2 separate regions of the Homo sapiens genome follow, and region 1 is linked to region 2. Evidence: promoter capture Hi-C in human tissues and cell types (Jung and others, 2019). All regions are on one chromosome and are shown on one strand. Each heading gives the region's core, a stretch centred on a gene start or on the middle of the fragment in contact. The rest is flanking DNA. Distances are from core to core; before and after follow the strand shown.

Region 1 (4,916 bases), core at 180-2,679, 100 kb before region 2:
GATGCTGCTGGAAGTAGGTCACTCTACGCTACTCTGTACTGGCATGAATAGCAATCGAGCAACTACATGAACATTCTATTTACCTAGCCATGGAGATGAAAACATTCCTGTGGGGGAAAAATGCAGCCAAAAGGTTCTGACACAACCAGACAGATGAGGAGGCATTCGAATGACTTGTGATTTCATCCAAACTGATTTGCTTGTTCCTACCACAGTGTTTCTCTGGATCTTTTCAAACCTCTGCAAAGAGTTTATCCACATGATACTCATTAAAGTCTCATTTGAAAGGATAAAGAAAAAAAAAAAAGCCCAAAGCTTTTTGAAAAAGGCAGGGTTATCTGAGCTGCAAATACACTGGTAAAAGGATTTTTTACTTATATCTATTTCTATTCTCCACTGCCACCCGACTGACTTTTGTAAATTGAGATAACAGCAGGCATTTAATGGAATCTGACATCAAGTAAGGTATGTAATAATATTTAAACTCCATAATGTTAAAATATGTATTTACAGATCATTTCATACATTGTAATGAGAATAAGTCATTTTGAAGCCTGAAGTTTCACGACTGGAATTCTGATTTGAGCTTTGCAAGTCCTTGAGGGCCACTCTCCTGCAGTGATGTGTTGGGAGCAACATGGATGCCGGAATTTTGGAAAAAGTCAAAACACTGGTCACAGGGTGATTGTAAGAAAACTGTATACTAGACCCAGTGAGAGATCTGTTCATTCCAAATCCTCTGTCTTATACTCCTGGTCTTTCATTAACAAAGAGATTAGTATTTGCTATAATTTTCTGATCCTAAACGATTTCAGTAAGGTCCTCTCTATGGCTCTTGCCTTATAAAATGAATGGAAAAAAGAATTGAAAATGACTAAATATCACCTGTAAATGAGTTACAAAAGAATAGCCTGTTGCCTGTCCTAAACTGTTTTCATTCATCTCCATTTCTAATTAGTTCTCATCCACTTGTATTTCTGTTCTTATCATCTAAGATTCAACTCAACAAGTAATAATGTATGCACTGGCTCTGCTAAGAAGCCCTTTCAGTATTCATGAACTAACTTAATACACAATGACCCTTTCGTGTGAGTATGTATATCTGTATTTTAGAGATGAGGAACTTGAGTTCCAGAATAGTCAACCTACTTGACCAAGTTCACCCCGTGAGTAAATATTAGAATGGTAGGGGTGGGAGTGGCAATTGAGTGGGGAATCTTAGGTCTCCTGGTTTTAAGGCCACTGTTGTTTTTCACTATCTCAACGTTCATTCCCTCACTTTGCAAATCTCAGTCTTGGGATAATACAAACAAAGTGCTTAGCAGTACCTGGAGTTTAACACTAATATCATCATCAATATCATTAATACTGTTTGTTGTCATTATTACTATCACTCACATAAATCCTAAAATTGAGCAACAATCTTTGACAGAATTAAGCAAATTATACCTTTAAATAGCTTCAGCTGCTTAAACGTCTTCATAAGTCCAGGAACTATAAGTCCAGGAATCAGCTCAGTTCCAGTTGAGAAGCCCAGGGCAAGTCGTATTTGTACATTTCTGTAAGTACTCATTAGCAAATTGAACAATCTTTAGATGTCTCTGATAAAACTCCACGTACACTATTTATGCTTTAAGACTTGGCTATGGGGGCTTTCACAGAGGGATGCCATGCTATCTAGGCCCATTCTAGGCTGGCATGCAAGGCCAGCCCCAGGGAGCTTGTTGTCAGGCACTTAGCAAGGCACTCATGAATTCAAATGGGCAGTTCCTTCCAGGACATCAGGGTGGTGATTGTGGTCAGGGAAGAGGGAAGGAGCAAATGGATGCAATATTAAAATAACAGTTATGCTTTTATCAGTAGTAAACTGAGTCCTTCTCTGTAGACTAGTCTGTGTGAGCACCTGTCATCATAAATGCCAAGAAGTACTGCACTCAAGTACAACCTTCCATTCTCATCCTCATTCTAGGGAACAGGCTTTCCACCCCATTCCTACAGAGGCCTAAGCTTACCTTGCTGACCCTGAGCACTGCCTTCTTGCACATACAAACAGCCAGGGAGCCCAAGCTGGAGGGCCAGTCATTTCTCTTGGCTCTTCTTTATAAGCCATTTTCTCCTACAGAAAAGTGGGCATAAGTGACCTGTAAAGCTTCTTCTCACTCTAAACCTTTCTGGTATTTTTTGTCTCTCTGTGATTTGCAATTGCCATAATGGGGGCTGGACCTCAAGTTCCTTCAGAGTAAGGCTGAGACATGATAGTAATCTTAGGTATCTCTGTGGCATCATTCAGCCTGAGAAAGTGGAGTGTAGAGGGAATTCCACAAAGACTCAAGCACGTGAAGAATACCTTATTATCATCCCTGTGTTACAACTTGCAAAGGCCTTTCTTCTAAGGTCCTCTCTTCATTCATCATTTCTGTGTGGTAGGCTTTACAGAATTAGAAACCAGAAGGCCAATGAGGGTAAGTGACAATTTCAAGGGTTAGAGCTAATAAGATGGAGATAACAGCCTTCTGACTCCTGGCACAGTGCTCTTGCTACAGACTGTGCTGTCTACCAAACCGATGTTTATTTACACTGAGAAATCATGAGCCACTATGCTTGTATTTCAGCTTAATGAATTAGGTATACAGAAGATATACATCAATAGTAAACACTGTCAGGAGTTTGAAGAGTTTGGGCTTATAGATCCAAGACTGAAATTGAGTTATTAACCTATTCACACTAGTGTACAAATCATATGGCAATCTGATGTGATTTCATTGTGACAGACTCTCCTGAAGAATCACATCTGCATAGTATTTGGTTTGTTACTGGTCTAAAGACTCTCCACACTGCCTTGGGCCCATTTCTGTAGGCTAATTTGTGTAAGGTACTCATCACTGAAGGGGTTAAGATGACCTCTAAATGACCTGACAGGCATAGCTCCATGGAAACGTTGATTTAGCCATCTAATCCCTGCTGGGAGAATGATTTAAAAGAAATACAAGGTCACTTGATTGCTAAGGTATCTTGTTGCTCAGCTGAGAATAACATACATTGACAGAACAGTTTCTTTATTATTGCCCCTTCTGTATTTTCTATCTTAATTCTAAAGCCCTCCCTCCTCTACAAGCCCTCCAAACAAAATACACTTTAAGGGGCTGGTAATAAGAAACAGGAGCCATGCATTCTACATGAATAACGTCTTTCAGAAAATAGATGAAGTCTATGCACCATGTGGCACCCATCAGTGGTGCCACTCCTCACACCTACGTGTGCTGGTCACTGTAGTGCTGCTTGTGTTTGAATGTCTGTGTTCATATTCTCATACTTCACGGTAGCACTGGCCCATTAGTTTGAGATTTTAACTAAAACAATGTTAGTTGCGTTTTGCAAAATGAAAAAAAAAAGTGCTGGGTTTTCTTCCTCTGATGTGTAAGAGCACGTCCCAAAGGAATATGGCTGTAGTTTCACATATAAGCTAGATTGTAAACAAAAGTGACAGTAACTGGAATGAATGGATGATTCACCTTAAATCAGGACACAAAGACAGAAATTAGGGAGAGGTATACAGCATTGGTAGCTTCTCCATCTACTCCTCATTCTGGAGCCAAAAAGGCACAGAGCTGGAAGGTAATTCTGTGCCAGGGGACATTCATCCTCCCAGACATCAACCTTAAAGCTGAGGTCAGTCTTAGCTACTTGGCAACTGACTCTGTCTCTTTCATTCATAAACTGTTTAGTATTTTTTTGTTTTGTTTACTATATCTGTATTTTGCGATTGTACTATACTTTGGGAAGCAAGTTTCATATAAATCATACCTTCAGGGTTAAGCAGTACTTCCTTTCATTTGCCCTAAACTCATCTTCCTTGGGTTTGAAAAACTTTGAGTCCTAGCAGTTGAATATTTGGTGAACAAGGTCACATATACTTTAATGTGATAAGCCTGGATCACATTCCTCTCTTAGTCTGCCTTGTATCAGGAGACTCATTCATATTTCTTTCATCCTTATTTGGCTATTGCATCTAGTATGTGCCAGGCTTTTTATTCTACCTTCATAGAACCACACCTACTTCCTACTGATTATTACACTTACTTTTCTGTGCATGTTCGCTGGGTTCATTAAATACATTCCCTAGAGCAGAGTAATGTGGCACTGCAGAAACAGGGAGGGTTCTAATATCAGGAAACCGAAATCTGAGGCAAGGCTCTTGCACATACTACCTCTGAAAACTTTATGCCTCAGTTTCCCTATCTTTCAAAAAATGGAGATAACACAAACATCTATCAAAGGGCTGTTAAAGTGAAAGTGCACATGGAAATGCTTAGAAATATGAGTTACCATTATTAGTAATATTAATATTATCATTAAAGATTAGTGACAAGAATAACCTTTTTTAATTCCTGGTTAAAAAAAAAAGTCAATACAGCTCTACATAAGGGTAGAATACTATTGTGTTCCTCACATCCTTCATAAAGCCACTTGTTCCCCTTTTTTAGCCATGACTTCATGTAGGGTCAGTGTTTTCAGAGAATGATTTTAATGAACTCTAAGTTATTTCCTGAATCATTAATGATATGACAAAGATCCTTTTATTTCATAACTATAGCTGGAGTCTTTACCTGTGAGGGCATTACCTTGAAGTTGGTCACAGGAAAATCATCTCTCCTTTCTGCCCTCTAACACTGATCTTCTTACAGTCTGTCTCCATTGACTTGACTTTTTAGTATAAGGTTCAGTATCATCTATATCATTTATAAAGATTGTTAATCATATTGCTTTCATAATAACTGAGTCTCCATGCCCAACAAATATAGTAACTTACCATTTTTTCAAAAAATAGATCTTAAAGGGAGGATCTATCAAAAGCTTTTTAAAAATCTAAGTCGATCTCCTTGATCACTATGTATGGCACACCCCTACAGGACACT
Region 2 (5,291 bases), core at 260-2,759:
GTTGTATAAGATACAGAGAAGAAAATATAGGTGAAAGTGATAGATGTGTGAGTCTGAGGGGATGAATGAAGAAAATTTCTAATTTTTCTTTATTCATTCAGAACTTACGGCTACTTGATGCAGTTTAGCTAATCTCCATGTGTACTTCTTACACATTCATTAAATCTCTACATACTTTTTTTTTCTAGTTCTTTACAAAATAATCTCCGATGTTGCTCTCCATTTAAGGAAACTAAATTGAAAGACTCCTCTCGCTTTCTGACTATATATTTATCTTCTTCATACTTCCCCCACCACATGACTTAGCATGGATCTCCCAAGTTCCTTCCCCAGCTCCAGCCCCCAGCTCTTCCCTTGAATTGGATTTTTCTTCAACTATTACTCTTTTTCCTATGCTCCTGCCAAAATCTAGTTTAGTATGCTAGTTAGCGGGACATGTTTCAGTTTTGTACCCTCATTAGGATATCAAAAATATATACTTCACACTTCAATGTAAAGTTAATATTTTCTTCCCTTCTCCTTTCCTCCCTTTTCCCTCCACCTCCCTCCCTTTTTTCCTCCCTCCCTCTCTTTCAATTCACAGGCCCAGCAACAGCACCTGCTTCACAGAAACAAGGCTGGTCCTGTTCTGATTTCTCTAGTCTTCCTTTAAAAACTAAACGGAGATGCACAGTCCCTCTTCCTGACACACACAGAAGTGAAAGGAGACACACAGAGGGAAAACACCACAGGCAAAACAATTCCCTTTTTTGGAGGGACATTTTTGAAACTTAATCTCTCCCCAGAAACCTGAAGTTCTCCTCTTTGCCTTTGTCCTTACAGTCCTGGTGTGGGGGCAGAATGTTTCCTGATTTAGCTGTCCTGGCCTCTAAATCTGTTTCACTCTCTAGCCATCTTACTGGGTTCTTGCTCTCTTTTGCCTCTCTCTCCTCTTGGGTCTCTGGGGTGTGTGTGTGTGTGTGTGTGTGTGTGTGTGTGTGTACTATTTCTCACTTGGGGGCTCATTTCTAATTAAGTAATCCAAGAGGCTAAAAAATGCACAAAACAACCAAATGAAACCTCAAATTAGATGGAAAATGGCTCAGATGGGTCCCAATCTCTGGGAGTTCTAGTTAAGCAAGCAAACAAAATGGGCTGGGATAAATGATTATTGTAACTCAGGAAGATTAGAAGAAAATGTAATTAGCTCCCCAGCTACTTCTTGTTCCCCAGCCTTTTTAAGAGTGTCCAACGCCCCACCCGTGAATGTACCCAAGGCTTCCTTATACACACCAAAAAGTCCCCACTGCAACGCTGGGAGGGTTAACAGAGCTGGTACCCCAGCCTGCCAGCTCACCAAAGGAGAGAGCGGTGAGGCTCAGAGCCCGCCCCCTGCCAAGCCGCCCAGCCAATGGGCACCTGTGGGGAGTGTGGCGCTGTGTCCCATTGGCTGCCAACCTACATGCATAAGAAAGAAAGAGAGAGGCAGGCAGGGCAGCATTGTTATCTTAAGACACTCATCTGGTGTCTGAGTCTGCAGGTGACACTGCTTAGGTACGGAGCGCGGAGTCGGAGCGGGGACGCGCCGGGCTGCAGCTCTGGGATGCAATCCGCCTGCCTCGCAAGCTGCTCGCCGCTGCGCTGGCAGCGCTTACGCTGAGCTCGGAGGATCCCATTAGGACTTGCCCGGGGATGTGCACCTGCCGTGCGCTCCGAGGTCAGTGGCAGGTCTGCAGGCAGCCGAGGGAGCGGTGAAGCCGGAAGACCTGTCTCTGCCCATGTGCAAGGCAGTGATTTCGGGTGAGAGAGCGGGTGGGTGAGTCTCTTTAGAGTTGGAAAGAAGGCAAAATCTTGGGTTTCTCCTCGGCGGAGGGACAGGGGACTCCCCCAGTTGGGTCTTGCACTTCCCTTACCTCTCCCACCCCGCGTGCGCCCCGGCCCAGTGCCGAAGCCCCACTTCAAAGATGCTCTGGGAGACCGGGATCCTGGCTGCTCAGCGGGAAGGCAGCAGGCAAGTGGTCTAACGTTGGCGGCGGTGGCGGTGGCGGCGGCGGCGGCACCGACAGTAAAGCGGGGAGCAAGAGAATTTGAAAAGAGACATCCGCTCCCTCTCACACGCTGAGGGGGAGGCATTCGCGTTTCCCCAAATGAGAAAGAACCACAAGAAATCATGAAGTAAAAACTTTGGAAAGCTGCCACTGGAGATGTTGCACAAAAACCTGGAATCTTTTAGGAGTCTCCTCCCAGTCGTTGAAGGTTTGGGGAGCAGCTGATACAGCAAGGAGGGCTCTTGCAAGGATTCAAGGTAACAGTGCAGGGTTTCGGTGATTTTTCTCCCCTTTTCATTGTCCTTTTTGGTGTGTCCGTTGGTAAAGGGACCATTTTGCTCTCATACAACCCTCTTGCCCTGGTGCCTGGCAGTGGCAGGCAGAGGGAATGATGCCACCTCTCCTAGTTTCTGTCTTGTGGAGTTGAGCAATGGACTTTGGGGTTGAGCTAGAGATTGCTCTGGTATTGCCTCCTGGTGTTGCATGGCTGTCAGAGGGTTTGGGCTCCCTGCCTGACCTATATTGCTTTTGCCTGGTTTAAGTCCTCAAAGTTAGTGCAACTCCTATTAGCTTCAGAAAATTCAATAGGGCTGCATAATTGCAGAAGATGACGAGGACTTTTGCCTGCCCAGCTGACGCTGGGAGGTTCATTATGTTTGGGAAGGAGCCCAAAGAGCTGAGGTTACAATGCACGATATCTATATTATCGTGCTCATAGAGCCCTATGGCATGTTTCCCATGCACATGCAGTCAGGAAAATAAAATTCCAAACAGTGAACCCTGTAGGTTGCAAATAGTCTCCCCAGGGTGGTGGCAGAAGCCCCATTGATTGACTTGAGCCTGGCAGAGCACTGGAGACACTAGGGAAGAACATTGCTGTGCTGAAAGGTGGGATGTGCTGGTATCATCTAGCAGATCTCTGTCTCTGTTTTTGTGATCATCTGGGTACACTGTCGAATGCTGCCTGTGGTGTGTGTATGTATGTGTGCTTGTGCTCACAGCTGTATGCAGGAAACAGGCTGCCCACAGAAGAACCAAGCATGTCCAGCACCCTGTCCAAATCACGGATGCCTGGAGTGTTCCTGCCTAGTAGGAACACGAACTTGTGAGCTGTTGTTCCAGCCCAGAGGACTCTTCTCCTCACCAAGCAGTCCCTCTGCATGGTACATATTTATCCAGGGTATATAGACCTAAGCCAAATGTTAACCAATGTTCAAGCTAATGCACTGTAATGTGATTGAACAGACCCCTCTGTAAAGAATTGTGTGTGTGCTCTTTGCAGCCCTAGGAGCAGGGTGCTATGAGCAGAAACAAATGTTTTGTTAAAAGGATAACAATTATAAAAGGTCAAGCTTATAGTTGGGTAATCTAGGCCTTATTCAGCAGGGACATTGTTATGTCAGCATAGACCAATCAGAGGGATAAAAGGTATATTATAAGTCAAGTATTTCTGCTTCTGTCCTTCTCCAGACATGTGCATGTTGAAGTGACTCTCTCTGACCATGCTCGCTAAAATACATGCAATGCCAGTATTAACCAAGCAACTAAAGTATACCAAATCCCCCGGGGGGCAGTCTGATGACATCAGGCAACAGCAAAGTGATGCTGGAGTTTGTGTGCTTTCCCTCCTGACTCACACAGTTGTGTGTATGTTATTTGTTTAAGGCATGACCCTCTGGAGTCCCCCTTCACCCAGAATAAGTTGCTTTGCAGCACTGAGGGCATGACCGAGACATGCTGCCACAATGATCCTGTCTTATCAATATCAGAGCTGCTGCCTACTCTAGGAAAAGATGCATGCCTTGCTTCTTTGAGGAGGATATAATTTGAAAAGGCACAGAGCATGTATATTGTGAAATATTTGAGATAAAGGAAGCAAATGTCACACCATAGTCTCCCCTTCTGGAGGTCAGCTGGCGCCAAAGTGTTTGACAGCTGGGCTGCAGCCATGGAGAAGACAGGAGCATTCTTGACTCTTACTTCCCCTCTTCACCAAAAATGGAGCTGGCTTTGTCTCCCAGAATGGAGTGATGTGTGCTGCAGTGTGGGCACAAGAAAGGAGGTGAGGAGAAAAGGGCTGGGGAAGGAGGAAGGTTCCTGCTCTGTCAGCATGGGGCTGGTCTCAAAGATGGGGAGCATCTTCCCTTTTTGGCCCTCAAAATTATCTTCTACGTGCTCCTTTCTGGCCTCCTGACAGGTTGTTTACTGAACAAGGCCAAAGGGCAAAGAACAACCCTGTGTCATCACCTTCTCCTGATCCCCTTTCCCAAGACACAGGCTGGCCACTGGAGAGCATCACAGAAAAATGATACACTCCCTTGAGGCACTGCTCTGAAATCCCTCCCCAACTCACAAACAAGAGGTAATCTGGAGGGACTTGAGACATCTGCGTGGGCACTTTCTGCTGACTGGGATGCTTAGTTGAGGTTTCCTGGTTAGTGTTTTGTTTTCCCCACTGCGCAGTGTATTTTTGGTGATTCAACTCTTTCTCTTAAATAATAAGACCTTGTATACATTTTATAATGGCATCCTCTTCCAAAGGGCTGACAGCACTTTCCAGAGCTCATCTAATTAATCCTCACACGGCTTATTGTCTCATTTATCTTTGATTACCCTAAGAAGTAAAGCTAAAATGATTTTAGCCCCCTTCTTGGAAAAGGGAGGGCAGAGAACCTCAGAAAGAGGAACTGCTTTATGCAGGGTCACACAGCACTTAAGGGACACTGTGGAATTGGATCTGGGTCTCACTGCTCCTGAACCAACCCCAGACTCCATGGGCTTCTTCTAAGGAATGGTTTGATTTTAGTAATTATAATCTGATTTAGTTGTTCTGTACTTTGTAAGGATGGAGATGTTACAATGACACAAGGTTTCTCCTCCGGGACTAACTTAAAAGCAGTGAAGAATAAAAGTCTCATAGGCCTTTGCCCTTGCCTTCAGTGATCTTGCAGTCTAGTTAGGAAACTAGGCTCCCATCTGACAAAAGGGAAATGATGATGTAGGTTCTAAACAGCAATTCAATACCAGAGAATTCACAAGGCTGACCTAGTTCATCTGCGATTGATTCGTACAGATAATGAGAACTATCAGTATTCAAAGGAAGGAGAATTTGAGTTGAGCCATGAGGGATGCGGTGGGATTTGTTTGGATAGAAAGAATGAGGGAAAGGGTTCTAGCTGACAGAAATAATAACTGCAGCACTGTTGGGAAGTTTGGAAACTTCGAGGCTTGCTTGATTCCTTGGGGTTTACCCTGGGCTACCTT

Evidence for each region. Contacts are between HindIII fragments. The study calls those that stand out against the background at their distance.
Region 1: a fragment that was not itself captured here is called in contact with the fragment with the promoter of BRINP2 in region 2 in 3 of the 25 tissues and cell types used here (dorsolateral prefrontal cortex, hippocampus and psoas muscle).

The regions. Positions count from the first base shown.
Region 1 is chr1:177,069,568-177,074,483 of GRCh38, forward strand. The region is part of intron 1 of ASTN1 (astrotactin 1); the gene reads right to left. Among named protein-coding and RNA genes, the nearest start is that of MIR488, 43 kb to the left of the region's middle. The HindIII fragment of the contact is 4,144 bases long and covers 1-3,501 here.
Region 2 is chr1:177,169,449-177,174,739 of GRCh38, forward strand. BRINP2 (BMP/retinoic acid inducible neural specific 2) reads left to right here and starts at 1,510. Exons shown (of 8, transcript NM_021165.4): 1 at 1,510-2,284. RefSeq lists enhancers at 1,148-1,737, 1,738-2,326. The HindIII fragment of the contact is 8,375 bases long and covers 1-5,291 here.